Linked DNA regions of Homo sapiens: regions 1, 3, 4, 5, 6 and 7 are each linked to region 2. The links are contacts of gene promoters, found by promoter capture Hi-C in blood cells and fetal thymus (Javierre and others, 2016). All regions are on one chromosome and are shown on one strand. The core of a region is centred on a gene start or on the middle of the fragment in contact, and the rest is flanking DNA. Distances in the headings are between cores, read along the strand shown.

Region 1 (3,751 bases), core at 1,252-3,751, 400 kb after region 2:
TGGCTATTCTCTTCCTCCCTCATTAGATGGAAGGCTTCTTCAGGCAGCAGCCATCTCTATTTTTCACCTCACATGGTGTCTAATCCAGAATAAGCACTTGATAAATATTTGTGAAAAGAATTAATCCTTGCCCTCTAAGAATTTTTGAGCTGAATGAGCACTATGAGTTGAGTTTCTGTTCCTGCCTCTGCTATTGACTAGCACTTAGGTCTTGAGCATTTAACTTAACAGCCTTTTGCTTCAGTTTCTCCATTTATAAACAAGAATGTTACAAGGAGAAATGAGGTTGTTGCCTAAAATGAAGATACTATAGAGTGGAGAGGTAGTGAAAGTGTGGGGAAAATGCTGGATTATAGTACAGAAGAGCCATGATCGCCCTTTTGCTTATAGCAAGATATTTAACCTCACTTTGTTTCCTCATCTGCAAAATGGAGATTCTAATCCCTGCCTCTTCTTACAGGGATGTTGTGGGGATCAAGTGAGATAATGTGTAAGAAGGTGCTTTGTAACTTGTTGAGTGCTTTACAAATATAAGGTATGCTATTGTTAAATTCCGGATTTTACAATACAGTGTGATTATAATGCCATCATTGGGATCCATGCTGTGAAAGCATGTTAAAAGGAGGCCCGTTGGGTATATGTAGTAACCGCTTATTACGAGTAAAAACAGACTTGTGTTATATGAAATAACCATGTTGTAAAGAGTTCTGTTGTGGTGGGGCATCCGTGGATCGTTAAAGACTGAGGGCTTCAAAATAGTTGTTTGAAGTGGTAATAGAATGTCAAATTGATGCCTTAACCCACCCATTTTAGAGGATACATAGGCCAGATCTACAATTAATAACTTTTAATAGGAGAATTTGAGGGAGTTGAAGTGAAACAGGAACTTTCATAGGCTACAGGTTACCCAAGAAAAACTATTACCAGTAAATCCATAAAAAAGGATCTGTGCTACCCTTACAAGTTGAGCAGTATAGTCAGTCGGATCCTACTTCGCCAGTTTAAAAAGCCGTAGGGACAGGAAGAGGCAGTGTGGTGTGTTGGTGAAGGGCCTGGACACTGAGGCCGGGCTGTCTAGTTGAAGTCCTGGCCCCATTGCTCACCAGTTTTGACCTTGAGCAAGTTCTTTAACTCTGTGCCTCAAGTAAGTGAGAGTAATAATAGTAGCCCACCTTATGGCATTGTAGAGAGGATTAAATGAGTTCATACACATAAAGCACTTAGAACCATGCTTGCCTGGCAGTTGTATGTCCAGTGAATGTTAGTTATCATTAATGGTTTTATATTAATTGTAACAATCTAGAGTTACCCATCGGGTAACTTAAATGCTTGTTAAATAAATTTGAAGTTTTAAAGACTTGCGTCCCATCATTAGACCATTGTGCTCGTTGTCTTTAGATTAGAATTCACTTTTATAGTAAGAAATAATCTATTGTTATATGTCAAAAAGAAATAATATTTTTCTCCCCTCTGTGTGTATATATAGTTACTGATTGTGCTACTCTGTAGGAGAAATACAAAGGACAAAAGAATGTATTCCTGCTATCCTACTTTTCTGCTGTCACACTAAAATTGTGTGGGAGGCTTAAGTGAGTTGAAAGACTGGATTATGGTAGTTGAGGGAATGGGTTTTTTGTTAGTTTACCATTTTTTAAAATACTTAGCTAGAAAGCATTCTGAATTATTGAATAAATTACGTCATTTATTTTTTATTTGACAGTTTGAAGATAAATTATTTTCTCTGTTGCCTCTATTTCACCACCTACAAATGGTCCATTATGTTCTGGACATGTTTAAGAGCCTCTGAGGAATGGAGCTGCAAACACAGACACAAATGTTCATCTTTGCCACACTGAACTATATTTTAATGTTTACTGAAGCCATCAAGCTTTTCTTGAATTCATGCAGGAGTATTTTAATTACATTAAAACATGGCATTATTTTAAAAGTAATCTATGTTTTTAATTTAAAGGCTACTTATGCTTACCATGGTAGAGAGTACAACTAAGGAAGTTTTCTTAACTTGCCTCCCTCTTTCTTTTCCTACCCCTACCTAAATCATAGGCTATTAAAATGAAATCTGGGCCGGGCGTGGTATCTCACGCCTGTAATCTCAGCACTTTGGGAGGCCGAGGCAGGAGGATCACCTGAGGTCAGGAGTTTGAGACCAGCCTGACCAATGTGGAGAAACCCCATCTCTACTAAAAATACAAAAATTAGCCTGGCGAGTTGGTGCATGCCTGTAATCCCAGCTACTCGGGAGGCTGAGGCAGGACAATCGCTTGAACCTGGGAGGTGGAGATTGTGCTGTGCACCATTGCACTCCAGCCTGGGTGACAAGAGTAAGACTCCGTCTCAAAAAAAAAAAAAAAAAATTGGTGTTTTTTTGTTTGTTTGTTTGTTTTAATTTCCTCACAGGTGATTATTTTAGACATTTTAAAAAATAAACATGCAGAGATTGGTATATTTGGGGAGGATCTAAAATCATGGAGTTTGTCATATTCCTAAATCAGTTTCCTTTTATAAATTTTGCCTTTAAATGTAGTTACCTTATTATCTTCCTTGGTTATGGAAGTACTTAATGTAGGTGATTCTTAAATGGAACTGAAAAGACCATTTATCACCCTGAATAAACAGAAATCAGGTTCTAGAACCAGATTGAAAGGAGGAAATTACATCACACTCTTAAATAAGGAAGCACTGGGCAGAACTGGATGAGTTGTATGACAAAAATGTGCCCCTCCTCCTCCCATGGATGGCTTCTGAGATTTATTAATGAGATCTGGTGGCCAGGTAAGCATATCTAGGTTACTGCCTTAAGGTAGCCTGCATTTTTCTTTTTTTTTTTTTTTTAAGCAGTTTCAAAGAGACTGTCCTCAAGCTAAAGGCATATGATTTCACCTTAATGAAGAAGGTGCAGTGTGCTTTTGGTGTAACTTTTTTAGAAAAATGAAAGTCACCTTAAATTCAGCAGCAAAAACACAGTCTAGAAGGAATAGTGTTTTAAGAGAAGGCAAAACACTGTTTTAAGAAAGTACCCCCCCAATTGCTTCAAGTAAATATACTGTAACAGAAACCAGTTTAGAAAGCTACACTGTTAACCACTGAAGCTTATAATTTTTACTCAGTCTACAAACTGTCTTCTTTGAATTCTGGAAATGAATTTCATAAAAATTCCTTCCTGTTACATATCCTAAGGTTGTTACATTATTATTGGGCAGTCGCCTCACTCCAGCACGCATTAACTTTATCCTTTATAAATCTGCTTCTCCCCTGAGCTCTTCACTGACTCACAGTGTATGTGAATCTTTCATGTCATTACTTTTTAAAAATGAGATGGATATTTTCTCAGTATCCATTTAATAAATAATAGACATGAATGATGCCAAGATCTACAGGGGGAAAGCATAAATCAGACATCAGTTCTGTCCTAGATGATTTGAAGAGTGGAAGGGGAATTGGGGCCCAGCACAAAATAACACAAGAACAGAGCACCGCTGCTCCAGTGTTTCATGAAAGGGAGCGGCTTCATGGAGAAGGCAGGGTAGAGCTGACCTTAAAGGATGAATCGAATTGTAACAGAGATTTGGGGAAAATAGAAGCGCGCTTGAAAATATAGATTAGGTTTATATTGTGGAGGCCCTAAATTGCCAGGCTGAGGAGGTTTTATTTAGGAGCCTTTGAAGGTTTTTTGAGCAGCAGCAAATCTTAGCTTGAGCTGTTGTTAAGGAATATTGACTTGGTACTAGTG
Region 2 (3,371 bases), core at 754-3,253:
AGGGCCAGATAAAGTGGGACTCAGGATGAAATCTATAGTTGGGAAAAATTCCTTGGCAGAGGCTTTTAAATGGCTGGATGGGGGAGATGGTTAATAGCCTAGTTATTAGGAAAGAGAGATAAAGGTCTGGCCTGGGACTGCCACTAGCATGAGCAGGAAAGGAGGGCGTTGAAAGACACTTTTTTTTTTTTTTTTTTTGAGACAGAGTCTCTGTCGCCCAGGCTGGAGTGCAGTGGCGCAATTTCGGCTCACTGCAAGCTGCGCCTCCCGGGTTGACGCCATTCTCCTGCCTCAGCCTCCCCAGTAGCTGGGACTACAGGCGCCCACCACCATGCCCAGCTAATTTTTTGTATTTTTAGTAGAGACGGGGTTTCACTGTGTTAGCCAGGATGGTCTCGATCTCCTGGCCTTGTGGTCTGCCCGCCTCAGCCTCCCAAAGTGCTAGGATTACAGGCATGAGCCACCGCGCCCGGCTGAAAGACACTTCTTAGGAAGAATACTGAGGACTTTATGATTTGACATTGGACCCGAGAAGAGGAAAGTACAGACTCATAGAAAATGGTAACAGAAAATAGTTACCACTGTAGACGCCTGCCTGCATTTTACAGAGTGTGGCTCTGAGGATTTGAGGGGGCTTAAGTTTGAATTCTGGCTTTGTCTCTGAGGAGTTGATCTAGTTACCTATCTGTGCCTCAGCTTCCTTGTCTGTAAAATGGGGATAATAATTGTACTTCTTCTTAGGTTGTAAAGATTTCGAATTAATATATATGAGGCTCCTGGCATATAGTAGGTACTTAGTAACTATTGGTTGAATGGATGATGTTCAAAGGATTGCATCACAATAAATGGAAGAAACAGGATCTGAATTTGTTTGTCCAACTCTGCCACCTTACCCTGATGTTCCAGAGTCAGCCTTTCTCACATGCTGCCTTTATTGTGTAGGCCTCTTTTACTGGACCTGTTAGATGTCACTTGGTATCAAGCCCACGTTCCGATTGCATGGTCCTGGCGTTCCACAGCCTGGCTCACTCCAGATTGCCCGCCCCAAGTCTGTGTAGACTGTCCCCTGTAACCCACCTCCCATTCTCCACCTCTGACCTTCACGGAGGGCCCGGTCACCAAGCCACCTCCCACCCCTGCAATAGTTGCCCACCCCTTGTGATCTCGCTGATGTCACTGCCTTGGCGAAGGCATTCTGAACTACTACAGACCACTGCAGTCTAGCCTTCTTGGGTCCCTTGCTGCACTGATGAGCTGCACCTCACTTCTTTATGCTTGGCCAGATGACATCTCAGAATGTTCTGTAATGACTTCACACATACTTATCTTACGTGCAAAAATGAATCACAGTTCAGTAAAGGTCCATGGCAACCTTTATTATCTTCCTAGACCCCTCTCAGCTAGGTGCTCAGTAAATACCTGAATACTTGAAGAATGGATTAAGCGGCAGGAATTCTGATTACTGAGGTGGAGTGTGCCAGTAGTTGAGGTCCTCATCTCATACCTGAACTGTGTCAGCAGCCTCTTTAACTGGTCTGTCCCTAATCTACACTTAGGCCACACTGCCACTGGCACAGTCCTCATCCAGTCTTTTCATGGAAAGCTCCAGCTTCAGCCTTTCTGCCAGCCTACAATTAGGAACTCTTCCGTGCGGCCTGAAGGGCTCTCTGCAACCGGATCCTTGCCTGCCTCTTTCGTCTTATCTGCTGGCACTCCATTCTGCACACCCTGTCCTCCTTGCAGTTCCCAGAATGTTCCCTGTGCCTTTTCCTGGCTGACTTCTGCTGGAAGCCCTGCTGGAGCCCACCTGGCAGGCTCACACTCTTCCTTGTCACTTCCTCTAAGACATCAGCAAGCAGAGTAAGTTGCTTCCTCTTCCTAGCTTCACCCACCACCCTTTGTTCCTCTGCTGCTTTTCTTGCAGGCCCTAGGACTGGTTTGTTTACCTGTCTGCCTTCCTGGGCAGACTGCAGCTCCTTGAGGGCAGGGCCATCTTTCCGTGCCGTCTCTCCCGGTGATATGCTGTGTGCACACAGCGTAGGATGCCTGTTGATCATATAAACGATACTTTTGTCAAGTAACAAAGGTCACTCCTCACACTAGAGGAGAGCTTGCTGCTTTCTTGTGCCTTGAGAGATTTTCCCTTCGAACTGTATGAATTATATTGAAAATTGACAATGATGAGTCATATCTCAGCAAGGGTGAAATTCAAAAACGCAAAGCCTCCACTACTGGAGTAGGAGGTTGCAGACTGGTCTTAAAAGGCTAAGTCTGGCCCTTCACTGAATCCGCCTGGCGGGTCTCAAACACAGGGAGTGGGAGGGACCCTCTGCCCGGTGGGCAGGTGATTTATTGGCTGGGAAGCTTCCGCGGTGATTTAGTTGTGAAGCGGCGGCCGGGGAAGTGCAGGCTAATGCCTGGGCCGCCAGGGAGAGGCCGCCCACAATCGCGGGCCGGAAGGGACCGCGGGGGGCGTCGGGGCCAGCCCCCCGTTTCGCAGCTGAGGCGGGGTTGGGGCGGAGGGCGTGCGGCCGGGGCGCAGCCGACTTCGTCCATCCGGAACGTGGGCTGGAGACCCAGCAGCCTGGGAAGGGCCCCAGCCCTGTGGGCGCCCTCTCCCCACGCTTGCTGCGGTAGGGAGGAAGTTTCTGTGCTTTACCGCCTTGATGTTCTCCTGTCCGGAAGGAGGACACAGATTCCAGCGCCGGGTGCCCTGGAGGCTCCGGCCTCGGGGTGGGGGTCGGGCCGGGGGCGGGGCCGGGGCCGGGGCGCGGGGCCCCGGCTGGCGGACAGGAGGGCGGCGGCAATCCAGGCCGCCTTTTGCAGCCGCCCGCGGCCGCGCCGGGCTCTGCGCGCCGCGCTCCTGCCTCCTCCCCCGTCAGCGGCGGCCCCAGCCCCGCGCCCCCCGGGCCCCGCGCCGCGCGGCCCCGCCGCGGTCACACGCCGAGCCACCCGCGGCCGCCTCCGCCCTGCGCTTTGTGGAGCCGGAGCCCAGTGACAGGCGACGGCCTCTTGCCGCCCCGGACCCCGGGCGCTTACCTGTGGCTGCTGGGGTCGGCCGCCCGGGACCAGGCTGGGAGCCCCGAGGTGGGGGCTCGGAGCCAGGAGCTGCCCCCACCGGGGCGGGGAGGGGTGCTCGGGAGGCATGGGACAAAGTGAAAGTCTCCGGGCTGGGGTTAGGGACGAGTCTGCTGCGAAAATGGATGGGGGCGGCGAGTGGCGTCGGGAGGGCGGAAGGGGTGCTGGTTATTCTCTGGTGTCTCGGAGTGGCTTTTAATGACGGACGGTGGGGCAGGCCCGCTGGCTTTCGTGTTCCCGGTGGGCTTCTGTGATACTGGTGCCTTCCGGTGCCTCCTGGCAAATTCTTTGGA
Region 3 (3,386 bases), core at 421-2,920, 440 kb before region 2:
ATGGAACCAGAAAATGGGATCATGCCATCTGGGTTGTTCCTTGGCTTCCAGGTGCAAGCTGGCCCAGGCCAATGGTTGGGGCGTCATGGTGTCTCATCGTTCGGGGGAGACTGAAGATACCTTCATCGCTGACCTGGTTGTGGGGCTGTGCACTGGGCAGGTAAGAATGAGCGTCTCCTCCTTTCTTCTCTGACCTCAACTTCCTAGGAAGACCCAAAACCAGTGAGGCTCCATGTCTGTCCCCGTTTTGCTCATGTCCCCTGAGTCAGTGCTCTTGTTTCTGAGGCTGAACAGAATGGGGGCATGAGCGCCCTGCCTGTATGTTGTGGCCCCCACTTTCCTAGCATCAGATCCTCTAGAAATTCTCTCTCTGACACCACACCCTCTCCCTGCCAGAAATGCCTGCAAAGCTTGTCCGCTGTAAGCAAATGGCCTTTCTTTTCTCCTAGATCAAGACTGGTGCCCCTTGCCGATCTGAGCGCTTGGCCAAGTACAACCAGCTCCTCAGGTAAGGAGGGCTCCTGAGAACAAGGGGCCTGTGGTTCACTAGGTGGGGGCCTGCACTCAGTGTAGGCACTGCCCTCCCCCAGGAGCTCCTGGCTCTGGGAACATGTACAGGTGCAGGTGCACAGTGCAGACAGCCAGGCCCTGAGCAGGCTTAGGTCAGGACAGAGTTAGGCCTAGACTCCCCCTACCCACCCACTGCAGCGCCACCAGAGGCAGGAGCCTGTTCCACACAGTGCTGCCCTCTTCTGGTGAGAAAGAATGGGACCCCCTTTGACAGCTGATGCATGACTTTCTTAGAGCTTTCAGAGAGCTCCTTCATATGATCTGTTTCAGCGCATTTAACCCCTGTTTGTGGATGTGGAGCCAGGGCTGGGAGGGAGGAAGAAAAGGCCGAAGGGCACATGGCTGGGTTTCCACTTGTGAGCGCTGTGGGGCTGTTCTGGTCTCCCTTTCCTGTCTGTGTCCTTGGGAAGCCCCTGAACACCAGGAGACTTGTCCCCCCGCCCGCCACCCCGCTAAGTTCTCCCATATTACCCCTTCATTCAAACTGTATCCTGGAAATTTTCAAACATATACAAAAAAGCAGGTGAACAGTAGACGCAGGGCTTTTTTGTTGTTTTGTTTGTTTGAGACAGGGTCTTGCCATGTCACTCAGGCTGGAGTGCAGTGGGGCAGTCATAGCTCACTGCAGCCTCAAACTCCCATTCTTTTTTTGCTGGGGAATTTTATTTTTATTTTTTTGAGAGGGATCTCACTCTGTCGCCCAGGCTGGAGTGCAGTGGCTCAGTCTTGGCTCACTGCAACCTCTGCCTCCCAGATTCAAGCAATTCTCCTGTCTGAGCCTCCCGAGTAGCTGGGATTACAGGTGCCCACCACCATGCCTGGCTAATTGTTTTGTATTTTTAATAGAGACGGGGTTTCACCATATTGGTCAAGCTGACCTCGGGTGATCCTCCCACTGTGCCTGGCCCCAAAATGTGTTGGCCTTTTTTTTTTTTTTTTTTTTTAACATCAAGATCCAAACAGCTCACACATTTTGTCTTTTAATAAGGTCACTCTCCTTTTCTCCCCATGCCATTTATTTGTTGTCCCTTCAATATTTTTTAAAAAACAAAAGCATTAGAATTTTTATATTCCAAGAAATGGCAATGCTGACATTTTACTTTGCTCCTCTGCAACACTGACGGGGAGAGGAGAGGAAGAGAAGGGGCGGTGGGTGGAGGGCACCTAGCATGGTGAGTTGGGATGAGGAGAACTAAATACTTTTCTATATCTGGCTTCTCAGAGAAGCACAAGTTTAGAGGGTTTAAAGAAGGTGGACAAACTGGAGAGTTCTGTGTTCTCAACTTCCCAGGAGTGGGGCTGTGTCTTTGACCACATCTAGGATGGGAAAACTTAAAACTTGAGGTCTGACTTTTCTTTTTTCCTCCCCATCTCTTTACCTTTCTCCTTCCCAAGAATTGAAGAGGAGCTGGGCAGCAAGGCTAAGTTTGCCGGCAGGAACTTCAGAAACCCCTTGGCCAAGTAAGCTGTGGGCAGGCAAGCCCTTCGGTCACCTGTTGGCTACACAGACCCCTCCCCTCGTGTCAGCTCAGGCAGCTCGAGGCCCCCGACCAACACTTGCAGGGGTCCCTGCTAGTTAGCGCCCCACCGCCGTGGAGTTCGTACCGCTTCCTTAGAACTTCTACAGAAGCCAAGCTCCCTGGAGCCCTGTTGGCAGCTCTAGCTTTGCAGTCGTGTAATTGGCCCAAGTCATTGTTTTTCTCGCCTCACTTTCCACCAAGTGTCTAGAGTCATGTGAGCCTCGTGTCATCTCCGGGGTGGCCACAGGCTAGATCCCCGGTGGTTTTGTGCTCAAAATAAAAAGCCTCAGTGACCCATGAGAATACTCCGTGTGCCTGTGTATGTCTGGAACAATCTGGGTCTGTCCTTAGTGTTCAGGGGCCCCTGGCGAAAGGGTGTCGGCCTTTGAGAACCAAGGTTTGGTGTCGTAACAGAAAAGGATGAGGATCCATTGGGGTCATTTTCCTGGGTCCTTGGGAAGGGAACCAGAGGCAAAGGCAAGAGAAGAGACATACACGGTCCCTCCAGGATAGTGGGGTCAAAACAGAGTCTAAGCTGGAAGGCAGAGCGAGACTTTGTTTGGACACCTTGTTTGGAAGAAACTTCAAATGCAGGCCTATTTGTAGATAATCTTAAGGATGGTAGCTACTAGGTTACACAGCCATATTCAGACCAGAAGGACTTCAGGGTAAAGGTGACCATCCTGGGAAGAGATGTTCTCTTCCCAGGGTCTCTTCCTGGGGAAAGCAGGTGAAAGAAGGATTAAATGGGAGCTCTGGGCAGGAAGGCAGAAGGGCATCAAGAAGACCTCAGGACCCGATTTAAATGAATGAATTCCACTCCTCGGTTTCTCAAGCTTCAGGTTTCATGTGTCCGGTAGCTGCCATTTGTAGCTGCTGCCCACTGCATTGGATTAAGCAGATGGAAAACTTGAATGTTGCAGCAAGTACTGTTCTAGGGTAATGCTGAACACGGGGTGTGAAGAATACGTTTATTAAAAAGTGAGAGATGAAGCGAGTTGTAGTGGCTCATGCCTATAATCCCAGCACTTTGGGAGGCCAGGGCAGGCGGATCATCTGAGGTCAGAAGTTCAAGACCAGCCTGGCCAATATGGCAAAACCCCGCCTGTACTAAAAATACAAAAATGAGGCCGGGTGCGGTGGCTCATGCCTCTAATCCCAGCACTTTGGGAGGCTGAGGCTGGTGGATTACAAGGTCAGGAGTTTGAGACCAGCCTGGCCAATATGTTGAAACCCCATCTCTACTAAAAATACAAAAATTAGCCAGGCGTGGTGGCAGGCACCTGTAGTCCCAGC
Region 4 (3,523 bases), core at 470-2,969, 370 kb before region 2:
TTATAAGAGGATCCCGTAAGAATTGATTACTGTGAAATTAGCCAACTACATAGTGTATTTCAAAGATAAGGTAAACTGTTGGACTTGTGATTACCTGGTTTCTGGTATGAATTACTGAACTTATGTTTGTTTTTATGTGCATAGATAAAGCTATATGCTTGATACTCTTTCAATTATAAACTTAATGGGTTATAAGAATTTATAACTTGGGCTTCATTAAGTGAAGAAGGCGCTCTTATACTTTGTCTTTTTGTTTTGTTTTCTTTTTTTTTTTCCTTCTTTTGAGACAGGGTCTTGCTTTGTTGCCCAGGCTGGAGTGGTGCAATTATAGTTCACTGCAGCCTTGACCTCCTGGGCTCAAGCGATCCTCCCACCTTGGCCTTCCAAAGTATTAGGATTACAGGTGTGAACTATCATGCCCGGCCTAATTTATCTTTGTTAAGCTTCACCTGTTCTGTTGATGATAAATTCTGGGAGATGATGGTGTCCTTTGTCTTTAAATGGTTTCTGACAAGTTTTCTTTTCTTAGTATTTTCTACTTTTGTTTGACTCTTAAAGAGTTATAGGTTTGAAACTAATGTCTACTGCCTCTCCCTCTTCTCGTATGATTCCTGTGGGTGTCCAGGAGCTATGTGTTTAGTTTGAAAAGAAGAGATTTCAGAATAATCATGCTTCCCGTATACTTACACTGATCATGAAAAGTAAAATTTATTCTGAAAAGATAGACCAGTTGCTTAGTAAGTGAAATGTAACTTGTTGTAGAAATGATCTGTAATTTCAGGCCATATTTTCTAGGAAGGTGCTGTCATCTAAGTCTCCCTTCCCCTGGGCATTTGGCTGTTAATAAGGGATTATCTGAGTGATATTTTGGGCTTGCCCATTCATTTGGCAGAATTTTATTTTTTTAGTGTCTCTTGCAAGATATAATGCTAGGCATTGGGGATATAAAGATGAGTAAGATGTGTCCCTACCCTCCTGGAGGTCATGATGAAAAGTGGGGAACAGATATGAAAAAAACCCCACTAAAATACAGACTGAAAGAACTGTAGTAATAGTAGAAACATGATGCTCCAACAATGTAGAGAGTCATTAAGTGTGCATATACTATCTTGGGCATTTGCATAGCACTTAGGGAGTTAACAAGTTGGTGTTTATCTTGGCAGACCACCTTCAGGCAGCTACCTTTATTGTGGGTGTGTGACCTCATGTAACTTGAGTGGGATTTTCCATGTCATTAGTAGTTCCTAGGGAGTAGAGAGTAAATCTCTTTTTGGAAGAGGTTGTATTCTCCTGAATCCAAAATACCTTTCTGTATGTTTTGTTGTCTTTTAAGAATATTTCTCAGACGTTATATAAGTAATTTCATTTTTTCTGAGTCCCTTCTTTGGAAAAGGAGTTCTTGCCAAATGAAAGGGACACAGTGTTTGGTTTTTCAGTTCATTATGAAACCCCTACCACCCTGTCTCCCTAAAGAAGTAAAGCCTGGGCCGGGTGCGGTGGCTCATGCCTGTAATCCCAGCATTTTGGGAGGCTGAGGTGGGTGGATCACTTGAGGTCAGTAATTTGAGACCAGCCTGGCCAACATGGCCAAAACCCATCTCTACTAAAAATACAAAAAAATTATTTGGGCATGGTGGCGCATGCCTATAATCCCAGCTACTCGGGAGGCCGAGGTACGAGAATTGCTTGAACCTGGGAGGTGGAGATTGCAGTGATCTGAGATCGTGCTACTACACTGCAGCCTGGATAACAAGAGCAAGACTCTGTAAGTAAAGCCTGACCTTTTTTCTTCCTAGAAAATGGCTTAGTTTATTTCTATATGAAGGATTTGAAAAACTGTAAAAATAATTCATTAGCATCTTATAAATTGATACAGGGATTACCTTGGAGCTTTATTAAACTCTAGGCTGTTGGTTATACCTATTACCTTCATATTTCTCTTAGTGGTATTAAATCTATTCATTTATCAAATAGATTAGATTTATTATTTATTTGTATTATTAGCTACATAGTATAGAAGGTACTGGGGAGACTTGTAATATGGTGGGGTTTGCCCACATTAGGAACACATGTTTTTCCTCATGTTTAATTTTTTTTGGGGGGGTGTCCTTTAACTATCTCGCGTTTCAGTACATATGCCATTTCCTGTCCCAAAGGAGCACATAAGTCTAGTCCTAATCTTGGTGCTTGAACCCGCAGTTCCAGAGAAAAGCAACTGGCACTGAATGCTCTCTGGCTCATCTTTCCATCCAGGATCTGTCAGCTAGCCAACAGGTGTGGGAGGTGTGTTTTCCAAGTTTAATGTTGCTGTTAGTGGGATACAAAAGAAATAAAAGTTACTATCTTTGGCCTCAGAATTTAGGAGGGAAGCCTTGCAAGAATACAACATTTAGAGATTTCTAGAACAAAAGCGGAATTTAACCAAGTACTTACTGTTTAGCATAACAAATTTAGTTCAGTTTCAGGTTAGAGATTGGTGTGGATTAAATAAGTTGACCAAAGATCCATTGAAAAGCTGAGTGGGCCATCGAAGAATGGGTGCTGTTTGAATAGCAGACTGGGAGAGCAGGTTAGGACAGTCCAGGCAGGGGTCGGCCTGAGGCAGGAATGCATATGGTATGCGCAGCGTTCAGTAAAGAGAACCTGGTTGAAGTACAGAATTTGTGGGGAGGAATAGTGCCAGATAAGTTAGGTAGACCAAAGAAGACAGGCTTGGAATGCTAGGCACGGAGTGTCTGTTGGCACCTGAAGGGAATTGGGGCGAGGTAATAAGGTAGCACGTCAGCCAGAGACTGGAGAGTACATCTCTGTCTGAGTAATTTTGGCCCCAAATTTGTAATGTGGGGATGGGAAGTGTATTGGTCAGTCCTGATAAAGAGTTATGTGTGCATCTGTGTGACGTGTTAAAATTGCTTCCTGCCACTGCTCGTGTTTGGTCAGATAGTAGGTTAGGCTGAAGGAAAGAGAGGTAGTAGCCACAGGACAGATAAGCTTTGAGAAGCCAGAGTGGTTGGTAAAGTATTTGGCTTTCATTTAGTATCTCTCATATATATATATATATATATATATTTTTTTTTTTTTTTTTTTTGGTAGAGAGGAGGTCTTGCTGTGTTGCCCAGGCTGGTTTCGAACTCCTGGGATCAAGCAACCCTCCCCCATCGGCTTCCCCAAATGCTGGGATTACAGGTGTGAGCCACTGTGCCCAGCCTAGTATCATATTTTATACAAGATAAATTTTACCAAAAATTCTACCATCAAATATAGAAGTTACTTTAGTTTTTTAAAAAATAATAGTTCACATATTCTGTTTCATGTCTTCTCTTGCCTCTCACCCTGAGCACCCACTGATTCATACCTGTTTATCTCCCCCTCCTTTGCTTCTTAGCTCCTGTTTATTCTTCAGGTCTGAGTTTTGGGATCATTTCATTTGGAAAGCCTCAGGGCTGTGCCCAGGGTGCTCTGCCTGGCCCCTGTACTCCCCCGAGCCATCTCTTATGCCTCACTGTAATCCCACCTGTACTTG
Region 5 (3,534 bases), core at 12-2,511, 420 kb after region 2:
CAGTTCCTGCAGTTGGGTGAGTCACGGGAGCCTCCGCTCATCCGCTCCGGGCTGCAGAGGCAACTCCAGGCACCCACAGCGGCTCAGACGCGTGATAAGACTTGTCTGCACACCACATCATCCCAGCCCAGGAGCCTCTAATTACACGTCTGGTGTTTGCAGGAGCCCAGGTGGCCTGTGCTTCCATGGGCTGAGAACTGTGAAGATAGCACGGGCTGGGTTCTCACTGCCAGCGCAGAGGCCAGGGTGGGGGAGGCACCTCAAAGTCCTAATGCGTCACCTCAATACCAATGATAATACCCGCATTCTAAAGAAAACAACAGTCCATTTAATCATGCGCTTCTTGTTTTCTAAAGCACTGCTACAATTTTATCTTCCCATAGACATTTCGAGCCCTTGTTTGTTTGTTTGTTTTTACATCTCACCTTTCCATTCACCCTTCTTAGTACAGGCAGAAAACTACCTGGCACTGTGGGAGACTGAGTATAGGAGAAAGCAGGATGACGATGGGCCTGAATGGTGGTGTGTTTTCCTCCACACAATGTGGCTTTGTCCTCCAAGGTGTCTCACGTGATGGAAGCTGGCTGATCTGACTTGCTTGCAGATGTCTGTAACAGCATTAGCAGCTTCCAATTGTCAGGAGCTCGCTGCTTGCCAGGCACGCTGTCGGGCACACTGAAATGTTGTGGGATGGCGCTGGGATCAGCCCTAGAACCATGAGACCTACTTTCACAGAAAGGACACTCATTCAGAGCAGGGCAAGGAAGTCACTGTCACCGAGACCAACACTGCTCCTGGCCCATGCCAGTCAGTGGCTGATGGACGAAGCTGCACTGTGGGACAGTGAAATGCGACGTTTGTTGATCCTGTCAGGAACATCGTCTGTGCGGGAGGCTTCTGAGGACAGCAGCCAGAAATCTGTTTTGTTTTTGTTTTCACAGTTACATATTTTTTTTTCTTCCATGCTTAGCTGATGCTGAATCAATTCGACTGTTCCTTTTGTAAGAGTCCACAAACCTTAACAATAATAGACAGTCATTTGTCATCTGGCAAGATGAGATTGAGAAGATTCTCAGTGAGAAACTGAATTTACCCAACTGAAATGTTCACTTAAAGTTTTTTTCCTCTAAAACCTGGACTACTCATCTGTGGATGACTTCTACTCATGTAATTTTTTTTCTCAAATTGGATACTTAAATGATTCTATGTATTTAGTAATCGCAAAAAGTCAGTTTTATGGATACAGTTTTCTCTGAACAGTTTTGGTATAGACAAAAAGAGGTGTTACCATCCACCCGGCGTGCATTATAATTCTGTCCTTGCCTAATCCCCACCCAAATGCCCATTTCCATCTACACGAACTCATTCTTTCTGAATCATAAATGCCACACCCTCAGTTGCACATAAAACTTTGCCATATTATGTATACATCAGTGTGTACGAAGACAAGTTGTGGCTTAGAAGCAGTCCATTTACAGTTTCTGGAACTGTTTATCATCTCACTTCTCCATAACTGATTCTAGGTCTGAAAGGTTTCCTTCTAAAATTTGATAGCCTGATTTTGAGGATATGTTTTCAATGCCTTTTCTGGTTACAAATCCTGATGTTGGCAGGTCTTTTTCCTGTAAGCATGAAGACCAACCAAGACAAGGTACACTGTGCTGTTAATCAAAGTGGCACAGAACAACTATGTGACAGGTCATAGCCAGGAGTGTAATGTAACATGGATATGGAGGGCCACAAAGAGTCCCATAGCCCTCCTGCTACACATCTGAAAATCTCCTGAAATTCAGAATAAACCCATTACTGAAAAACAAAAGTGTTTATTGGCATACCAGACTGTTTCAGGAATTCATGAAAGATAGAAAACAGATGGGTCTTGTGTGATGGAGAAATAAGACCAAAGAAAAGACCAAAGGCTAAAAGATCTACAGGAGGGGCCGGGTGCAGTGGCTCACGCCTGTAATCCCAGCACTTTGAAGGCCGAGGCGAGTGGATCACTTGAGGCCAGGAGTTTGAGACCAGCCTAGCCAACATGGTGAAACCCCATCTCTATTAAAAATACAAAAATTAGCCAGACATGGTGGCTCACACCTGTAGTTCCAGCTACTCGGGAGGCTGAGGCAGGAAAATTGCTGAACCCAGGAGGCGGAGGTTTCAGTGAGCCGAAATCTTGCCACTGCACTCCAGCCTGGGGGACAGAGTGAGACTCCGTCTCAAAAAACAAACAAACAAAAAAATCTATAGGAGATGACTTCTGTGAAGGTGGCTGTGAGTTCTGAGAAAGCTCTGCCCTTTATGGAAATAGGGAACAGGAAGGAGCCCTGGGGCAGGAGTCAGGGTGATTATCTGGGGGCTTTTGGAGGATCAGCCAGCTGCCTTCGCCCCCTTCCCCACCTCTCTCATGCTAAACTGTGTCACAGTGAGTATGTGCACACAGGCCAGAGCACTGGTGACAAGAGGCACAGCAAGACCCTGGGTAGCAAGAAATCTGCACTATTTCTAGGTGGGCTAGAAAGGCCCTCCTGACTGAGAGGACTCAGCCTTCCTCACACTGCCCTGTGTTTCCTCTGCTGTGGTTATCAGAGGCAAACTCATGTCATCAGAACCTGGTTCAACAGACAGGAGAATAGGAATTTTGAAATATGAGCCCAAAATTTAAATTGCGAAGCATTTGAGGAAAATTAATATCAAGAAAAGTACAAAACTCAATAAACATGCAACTCCCCATGCAAACATTTCACAAAGCAAACATGTTAAAACAATCCTTGGAGATTAGACAGAACATTATATTCGTGAAATAAGAACAGGCTGTTAGGCTGGGCACGGTGGCCCCTACCTGTAATCCCTGCATTTTGGGAAGCCAAGGCGGGCAGATCACAAGGGCAGGAGTTCGAGACCAGCCTGGCCAACATAGTGAAACCCCGTCTCTACTAAAAATACAAAAATTAGCCAGGCATGGTGGCGTGCACCTGTAGTCCCAGCTACTCAGGAGGCTGAGGCAGGAGAATCGCTTGAACCCGGAGGGTGGAGGTTGTGGTGAGCCGAGATTGCGCCACTGTACTCCAGCCCAGGCAACAGAGACTCCATCTAAAAATAAATAAAAAATAAGAACAGGGCCCACTGCAGTAGCTCATGCCTGTAATCCGAGCACTTTGGGAGCCCGAGCCGGGCAGATTATGAGGTCAAGAGATGAAGACCATCCTGGCCAACATAGTGAAACTCCGTCTCTACTAAAAATACAAAAAAAATTAGTGGGCATGGTGGCGGGCGCCTGTAGTTCCAGCTACTCGGGAGGCTGAGGCAGGAGGAGAATCGCTTGAACCCAGGAGGCAGAGGTTGCAGTAAGCCAAGATGGTGTCACTGCACTCCAGCTTGGTGACAGAGCAAGACTCCATCTCGGAAAAAAAAAAAGAACAGATTTTGTTTTGTTTTGTTTTGGTTTGTTTGTTTTGAGACGGGAGTCTCGCTCTGTCGCCCAGGCTGGAGTGCAGCGGCGGGATCTCAGCTCACTGCAACCTCTGCCTCCTGGGT
Region 6 (3,390 bases), core at 875-3,374, 450 kb after region 2:
ATCACAAGGTCAAGAGTTCGAGACTGGGCGCGGTGGCTCATGCCTGTAATCCCAGCACTTTCAGAGGCTGAGGCGGGTGGATCACAAGGTCAGAAGTTCAAGACCAGCATGACCAACATGGAGAAACCCCATCTCTACTAAAAAATACAAAAATTAGCCAGGCGTGGTGGAGCACACCTGTGATCCCAGCTACTCAGGAGGCTGAGGCAGAAGAATCACTTGAACCCGGGAGGCGGAAGTTGCAGTGAGCAGAGAACGCACCATGGCACTCCAGCCTGGGCAACAGAGCGAGACTCTGTCTCAAAAAAAAAAAAAAAAAAAAAAAAAAAAAGAGTTTGAGACCAGCCTGACCAACATGGTGAAACTCCATCTCTACTAAAAATACAAAAATTAGCTGGGTGTGATGGCATGCGCCTGTAATCCCAGCTACTCAGGAGGCTGAGAGAGAAGAATCGCTTGAACCCGGGAGGCAGGGATTGCAGTAAGCCAAGATCACGCCACTGCACTCCAGCCTGGGCGATGGAGCGAGACTCCATCTCAAAAAACAAACAAACAAACAAAAACAAGCATATACTTACCTCCATTCATCATTTTGTCTTTAGCAAGAGGGTGTGTTGTAACTTTACTTCCAAAACCTATTTCATGAGCCAACAGAGCAGTAGGACCTAAGAATAAAAATAAAAAGATCTAAGTGCAGATATAGAAAAGCCCATGTTTAAAAAATCGCAATAGTGCCTGGCACAGTGGCTCATGCCTGTAATCCCAGCAATTGGGGAGGCCTAGGTAGAAAAATTGCTTGAGCCCAGGAATTCAACATCAGCCTGGGCAACACAGACCCCTTCTCTAACAACAACAAAAACTGCAACAGCAAAGTATTCTTCAAAATCAAGAGGCTCTTACCAAACATACAGCTACGATTCTGAAATGAAACACTTCCTAGTATGAGAGATAAAGTATGTTTATAACAAACGATTTGCTGAGCACATCTGGCAAAAGCACAGAAACTCAAAATACTTCAATAACCATTTACTCAAGAAGATTTACCTTGATACCAGCAGAGCATACACAGATAAACAAAATGTGCTCACCTCTCTCACCTTCCCCATCCCCAGAACAGGGACCACATATACCAGGAGTCCAAAGGAGGGGGAGGATCACTGGGGCGGGCTCAACTTCTTACCTCACTCTTAGTAAAAGGAAAGATTTAGTTACATGCTAAAGGCAACTGGTACTCTCTGAACTTCTGGATTTTATTGCTCTTTTGTAATCTTATTTTCTACTTGAAAATGGGAAATTAGGCCGGGCACGGTGGCTCATGCCTGTATTCCCAGCACTTTGGGAGGCCAAGGCGGCTGGATCATGAGGTCAGGAGATCAAGACCATCCTGGCTAACACGCTGGAACCCTGTCTCTACTAAAAATACAAAAAATTAGCTGTGCGTGGTGGCGGGCGCCTGTAGTCCCAGCTACTCGGGAGGCTGAGGCAGGAGAATGGGGTGAACCCGGGAGGCAGAGCTTTCAGTGAGCCAAGATCGTGCCACTGCACTCCAGCCTGGGCGACAGAGCGAGACTCTGTCTCAAAATAAATAAAAAATAAATAAATAAAATGGGAAATTAACACTCGTTCATCCACCTATCCACCCAAGTATGCCAGGTGGTAGGATTAAAATGGACAGCACACTGTCCTTGAAGGAGATAGCCTGTGAAGTGCCTGGAAGTGTGAGATATAAAGGCACTAGCATCACGTGATGAAAGCTACTTAAGCAAAGAACCACATGGAAGTGTCAGTTGATGAAGTCTTTCCAAATTGGCAGGTCCTAACTTGAGATTTTTATTTAAATGTATTCACTGAAAACGGCCAACTTCAGGGAGGGTCACAAGCATATTGCGTATGTAATGGTCCTAAATAAGGATTAAAAACAAAGATTTTATATACCTTTCATTGTTATTTCATCTTAAAGCTTTTTACAAAGTATTCATTCTACCTTTTTCCTCTAAGCCACACATATAAACATTCTTTCTAAGGCCTCACATGACACTTAGAAGGATACGTTTCAGAACAGCACCTTGATCTTGGAAACACTTAAGGTGCCCTGGATGGCTAAGATCCTGTGGCACAGTTTGTACACTTTTAGTGTCAGCAAACCTGAGAGGTCTTGGTCTTACTGTCCTTTCATTTTTCAACAAGACTCCAAGGAAGGAATTATATAATATACCCACAAGCTACTCAGACCGTAGCTGTTACAAACAGGAAGATCACACAAATACTACCTAATTACATAAGCTTTCTGCCTAATATCAGCTGTCAGTTTCAGACCAAGTCCTGATTTATAGCTCTTAAATCAAAAGCCTCAAATGTCTCTTCTCCACGTTATTTTTACACACAAGACAGCTATGTATGGTAGCAAATTTTAGAAGTCCGTAAGAATTGAATAATTATCAATTTTTATTTGAATGGATTTATAAATTGTTTTTAATTTTTATTTGGTAAGAATTTAAGAAGAAATTCCTACATCATCTTGCATTTTAAAGTAAACTTTAATAGATGATAGCACAGTGAGGAAAGTGATCGGTGAACGAGAATTTTTAGGCTGCTCCCTTCAAGGTGGTAATAAAATCACTGCTACGATGTGAATAAATTTATGTTACAGTTGGATTCAGGAATTTACTGATGTCTTTCATACTTATCAGGTAAGCTCATAATCACTGCTTTCTGGGGCGTCAGAACCCTATTTGGAATACTGGAGAAGAGACGTTTCACTCTCCCAGGACCTGGGATTCTGATGGATGAAAACGCTCTGTACTCTGCACTACAGTGCAGAGGGCGCAGCTGACCATGTCCCCTTCTGCAGCCAACAGCACCACCCTGTGGTAACATGCAAAATGACCACCTCTGCCAACTCCCCAGCTCCTCCAGGTGGCCAAGACCTTGCTTCCAGAGGCCTCATTCCTAGACCTGGGCATCTCAGCTGACAACTGTCCACTCCTCCAACTCCACACTTCCTCCCCCTCCCCTACTCAAAGTAAATATCATTTAATTTTCTTCTCAACATAGACTCCCTTCCAATTTGCGTTCCTCATTCACTCAATATTAAGGACTAGGCTAATATTCTTTGTGTTCAAAATGTTTCCAATCCCTAACTGCAACACTTCAGAATAATCTTGGCTGGGTGCGGTGGCTCACGCCTGTAATCCTAGCACTTTGGGAGGCCAAGGTGGGCGGATCACGAGATCAGGAGTTCGAGACCAGCCTGGCTAACATGGTGAAACCCCGTCTCTACCAAAAATACAAAAATTAGCTGGGCATGGTGGCAGGTGCCTGTAATTCTAGCTACTCGGGAGCCTGAGGCAGGAGAATCGCTTGAACCTGGGAGGTGGAGGTTGCAGTGAG
Region 7 (3,429 bases), core at 414-2,913, 410 kb before region 2:
TAGAGATGAGTTTTTGCCATGTTGCCCAGGCTGGTCTTAGACTGCTGGGCTCAAGCAGTCTGCCTGCCTCGACCTTCCAAAGTGCTAGGATTACAGGCATTAAGCCACTGTGCCCAGGAAAACAAAAACAAAAACAAAAAACTTTAGGCCAGGTGCAGTGGCTCACACCTGTAATCCCAGTACTTTGGGAGGCCTAGGCGGGCAGATCACCAGAGGTCAGGAGTTCGAGATCGGCCTGGCCAACATGGTGAAACCCTGTTTCTACTAAAAATACAAAAATAAGCCGGGTGTGGTGGTGCACGTCTATAGTCCCAGTTACTTGGGAGGCTGAGGCAAGAGAATCACTTGAACTGGGAGGTGGAGGTTGCAGTGAGTCGAGATCGCGCCATTGCACTCCAGCCTGGGCGACAGAGTGAGACTCCACTTCAAAAAACAAAAACAAAAACAAACAAAAACAAAAAAATACTTTAAACATTTTTTGAAAAGCAGGTCTGCCGGCAAAAATGTCCTTAATTTTTTTGTTTGTTTGTTTTTAGGCAAGAGTCTTGGTCTGTCACCCAGGGTGGAGTGCAGTGGCACAATCATGGCTTACTGCAGCCCTAATCTCCCTGGCTTGGGTGATCCTCTCACCTTGACCTCCAGAGTAGGCATGTGCCACCATGATTGGCTAAGTTTTGTAATTTTTTGTAGAGGCTGGGGTCTCACTATGTTGTCCAGGGTGGTCTTGAACTCCTGGGCTCAAGGGGCCCTCCCTGCCTCAGCTTCCCAAAATGCTGGGATTACGGATGTGAATTTTCTCAATTTTTGTTTGTCTGATAAAGCTTTCTTCTTTTGTTTTCTTTCTTTCTTTCTTTCTTTTTTCTGAGACAGAGACTTGCTCTGTCTTCCCGGCTGGAGTGCAGTGACTGGATCTCAGCTCACTGCAGCCTCCACTTCCCGGCTCAAGGGATCCTCCTGCCTCTGCCTCCCAAAGTGCTGCTGGGGGATTACAGACGTGAGCCACTGCACCTGGCCCTATCTAAACAAATCTAAACATTAAAAGGGTACAGTAAAAATATGGTATCTTCTGGGACAATCATCATATATGTGGTCTGTTGTTGACCAAAACGTCTTATGCAGTGTATGACTGTAGTTTCCTTTCAGGGCAGGCCTTATTAAGAACAGTGTTCTGGGCCGAGCACGGTGGCTCATGCCTGTAATCCCAGCACTTTGGGAGGCCAAGGCGGGCGGATCACTTGAGGTCAGGAGTTCAAGACCAGCCTGACCAACATAGAGGAACCCCATCTCTACTAAAAATACAAAATTAGCCAGGCGTGGAAGTTCATGCCTGTAATCCCAGCTACTTGGGAGGCTGAGGCAGGGGAATCACTTGAACCCAGGATGCGAAGTTTGCGGTGAGCCAAGATCACTCAATTGCACTCCAGCCTGGGCAAGGAGAGCAAAACTCTGTCTCAAAAGAAAAAAAAAATCCCCTGAAAAAATCAGAGTGTTCTGGGTGTATTCCAAAACGGCTGCTTTTCCTCTCCCCCTGCTGGAAGCATGAGGGGATTTTTTTCAGATCATTGTGAGAACCCAGTTGGGCTTCTGGAGGTAAAACTCAACAAAATTGCAAGAGCCCCTCTGGCAAAGAGGAGGCAGGAACAGTGATCAATTGTATCAGATAAGAATTAGCCAGCTGGACTCAGTTTAGATGATCCCAATTTTGTCGGCAACATTCAAAGCATCATAATCAGGAGCCAGTCGAACATATGCCTTTATGCCTTCTTCTCTCCATCAGGCCGAATCAGGGTGTTGGCCTTGGCCACATCCACGTCATAGAGGTTCTTCACAGCCTGTTTGACTTGGTGTTGTTGGCTTTAACATCCACAATCAACACAAGTGTGTTGTTGTCTTCCATCTTCATAGCAGACTCGGTGGTCAGTGGGAACTTGATGATGGCATAGTGGTCAAGCCTGGGAGAGAGGCAAAATGGGGTCACCTGGGCTGGGCTCGGTAGAAAGATGGGCTCTCTTTTGGAGTCCAGCTGGCTCTCCTTTTTTTTTTTTTTTTTTTTGAGACAGAGTCTCCGTTGCCCAGGCTGGGTGCAATGGCGCAATCTTGGCTCACTGCCACCTCTACCTCCCGGGTTCAGTCGATTCGATTCTCGTACCTCAGCCTCCTGAGTAGCTGGGATTACAGGCATGCGCCACCATGCCCAGCTAATTTTTGTGTTTTTAGTAGAGACGGGGTTTTTGCCATGTTGACCAGGCTGGTCAACTCCTGACCTCAAGTGATCCTCCTGCCTCGGCCTCCCAAAATGCTGGGATTATAGGTGTGAGCCACTGGCTCTTCCTTTTGATAGGAAAAGTTTTGGAGGAGAGGTTGAGTTAGAGTGAGATTGGGGTGGATTTTACAGAGAATAGGAAACAAGGAATTGGATACAGCAAATGTAGATCATTCTTTCAAAGGTGTTTTGCTGGAAAAGGGAGCAAAGAAATGGGGCAGTAGATAATGTCTAAAGCTTAGTTAAGAGAAGCCTTATTATAGGGGAATAAAAAAAACTTATGTATATTCTTTTTGTTTGTTTTTTTTTTCGAGATGGAGTTTCACTGTTGTTGCCCAGGCTGAAGTGCAATGGCACGATCTTGACTCATTGCAACCTCCGCCTCCCGGGTTCAAGCGATTCTCTTGCCTCAGCCTCCCAAGCAGCTGGGATTGCAGGCATGTGCCACCATGACCGGCTAATTTTTGTATTTTTAGTAGAGATGGGATTTCACCATGTTGGTCAGGCTGGTCTCGAACTCCTGACCTCAGGTGATCCGCCCACCTCAGCCTCCCAAACTGTTGGGATTACAGGTGTGAGCCACTGTGCCTGGCCTATCTTATGTATATTCTAATGGGAATGATCCAGCAGAGAGCAAAAAAAATAAAAAATAAAAAATAAAACCCTGATGTAGCAGAGAGAGGGGATAATTTCTGAGTGATATCCATGAGTAATCAGAGGGGACTGGATCAAGTGCACAGGCAGAGGGCTGGGCTCTAATAGCAGAGATGCTTTGTCTATAATAGTAGGCAGGAGCCCAGAGCGTGGGGATTTAGAGAATGATAGATAGGTGTGGGGAGGGGGGAGATCACACAGCTTCTCTGCTGATTGTGTCAACATTCACAGTGAACCGAAAGAAAGCCATTAACTGGAAGTGAGGGGAAGGGAGGAGGTGTTGGAGGTTTGAGCAGAAAGGAGAGGTTATAAAATAACTGCTTGGAAAATGAAGGGAGAAATTAACCTGGATAAGTGTTGTATGATTGCCAAGGGGCGTGAAGACTCCACGTGAGGTTTGTGGTTGTGAATTTGAAAGTGAAACTCGTTAGTGTGATGCCAGCCTCATTTGGCTGGACAGGTGCAGATGCCTACCAGGCAGCAAATTGGAATTATCACCAGGGTTGTGGTTT

Evidence for each region. Contacts are between HindIII fragments. The CHiCAGO score rates a contact against its expected background, and 5 or more counts as called.
Region 1: a contact is called between a fragment that was not itself captured here and the fragment with the promoter of RERE-AS1 in region 2, in 8 of 17 cell types (total CD8 T cells, activated CD4 T cells, non-activated CD4 T cells and 5 more). The highest score is 6.4, in total CD8 T cells.
Region 3: a fragment that was not itself captured here is called in contact with the fragment with the promoter of RERE-AS1 in region 2 in 2 of 17 cell types (naive B cells and erythroblasts); the score reaches 6.0 in naive B cells.
Region 4: a contact is called between a fragment that was not itself captured here and the fragment with the promoter of RERE-AS1 in region 2, in 3 of 17 cell types (megakaryocytes, erythroblasts and naive B cells). The highest score is 8.2, in megakaryocytes.
Region 5: a fragment that was not itself captured here is called in contact with the fragment with the promoter of RERE-AS1 in region 2 in 6 of 17 cell types (total CD4 T cells, M0 macrophages, M1 macrophages and 3 more); the score reaches 8.0 in total CD4 T cells.
Region 6: a fragment that was not itself captured here is called in contact with the fragment with the promoter of RERE-AS1 in region 2 in 1 of 17 cell types (naive CD4 T cells); the score reaches 5.5 in naive CD4 T cells.
Region 7: a contact is called between a fragment that was not itself captured here and the fragment with the promoter of RERE-AS1 in region 2, in 1 of 17 cell types (total B cells). The highest score is 5.4, in total B cells.

What each region holds. Positions count from the first base shown.
Region 1 is chr1:8,019,177-8,022,927 of GRCh38, reverse strand. The region is part of intron 1 of ERRFI1 (ERBB receptor feedback inhibitor 1); the gene reads left to right. Among named protein-coding and RNA genes, the nearest start is that of ERRFI1, 5.3 kb to the left of the region's middle. The HindIII fragment of the contact is 1,222 bases long and covers 1,891-3,112 here.
Region 2 is chr1:8,423,277-8,426,647 of GRCh38, reverse strand. It overlaps RERE-AS1 (RERE antisense RNA 1), which reads right to left and starts at 2,003. Exons shown (of 4, transcript NR_125999.1): 1 at 1,947-2,003. All of the region lies in intron 11 of RERE (arginine-glutamic acid dipeptide repeats), which reads left to right. RefSeq lists silencers at 2,414-2,553, 2,864-3,203. The HindIII fragment of the contact is 3,073 bases long and covers 1-2,366 here.
Region 3 is chr1:8,860,009-8,863,394 of GRCh38, reverse strand. ENO1 (enolase 1) reads left to right here. Exons shown (of 12, transcript NM_001428.5): 10 at 52-160; 11 at 450-508; 12 at 1,966-2,395. The coding sequence ends at 2,035. Among named protein-coding and RNA genes, the nearest start is that of MIR6728, 4.9 kb to the left of the region's middle. RefSeq lists an enhancer at 571-865. The HindIII fragment of the contact is 2,516 bases long and covers 413-2,928 here.
Region 4 is chr1:8,788,848-8,792,370 of GRCh38, reverse strand. All of the region lies in intron 1 of RERE (arginine-glutamic acid dipeptide repeats), which reads left to right. Among named protein-coding and RNA genes, the nearest start is that of RERE, 27 kb to the left of the region's middle. The HindIII fragment of the contact is 2,548 bases long and covers 446-2,993 here.
Region 5 is chr1:8,001,471-8,005,004 of GRCh38, reverse strand. It overlaps LOC124903834 (a long non-coding RNA gene), which reads right to left. Exons shown (of 2, transcript XR_007065451.1): 2 at 1-1,017. Among named protein-coding and RNA genes, the nearest start is that of ERRFI1, 23 kb to the left of the region's middle. RefSeq lists a silencer at 1-236. The HindIII fragment of the contact is 5,450 bases long and covers 1-3,534 here.
Region 6 is chr1:7,974,927-7,978,316 of GRCh38, reverse strand. PARK7 (Parkinsonism associated deglycase) reads right to left here. Exons shown (of 7, transcript NM_007262.5): 6 at 579-665. Among named protein-coding and RNA genes, the nearest start is that of PARK7, 15 kb to the right of the region's middle. The HindIII fragment of the contact is 323 bases long and covers 1,963-2,285 here.
Region 7 is chr1:8,829,636-8,833,064 of GRCh38, reverse strand. It overlaps the pseudogene RPL23AP19. Among named protein-coding and RNA genes, the nearest start is that of RERE, 14 kb to the right of the region's middle. The HindIII fragment of the contact is 1,679 bases long and covers 824-2,502 here.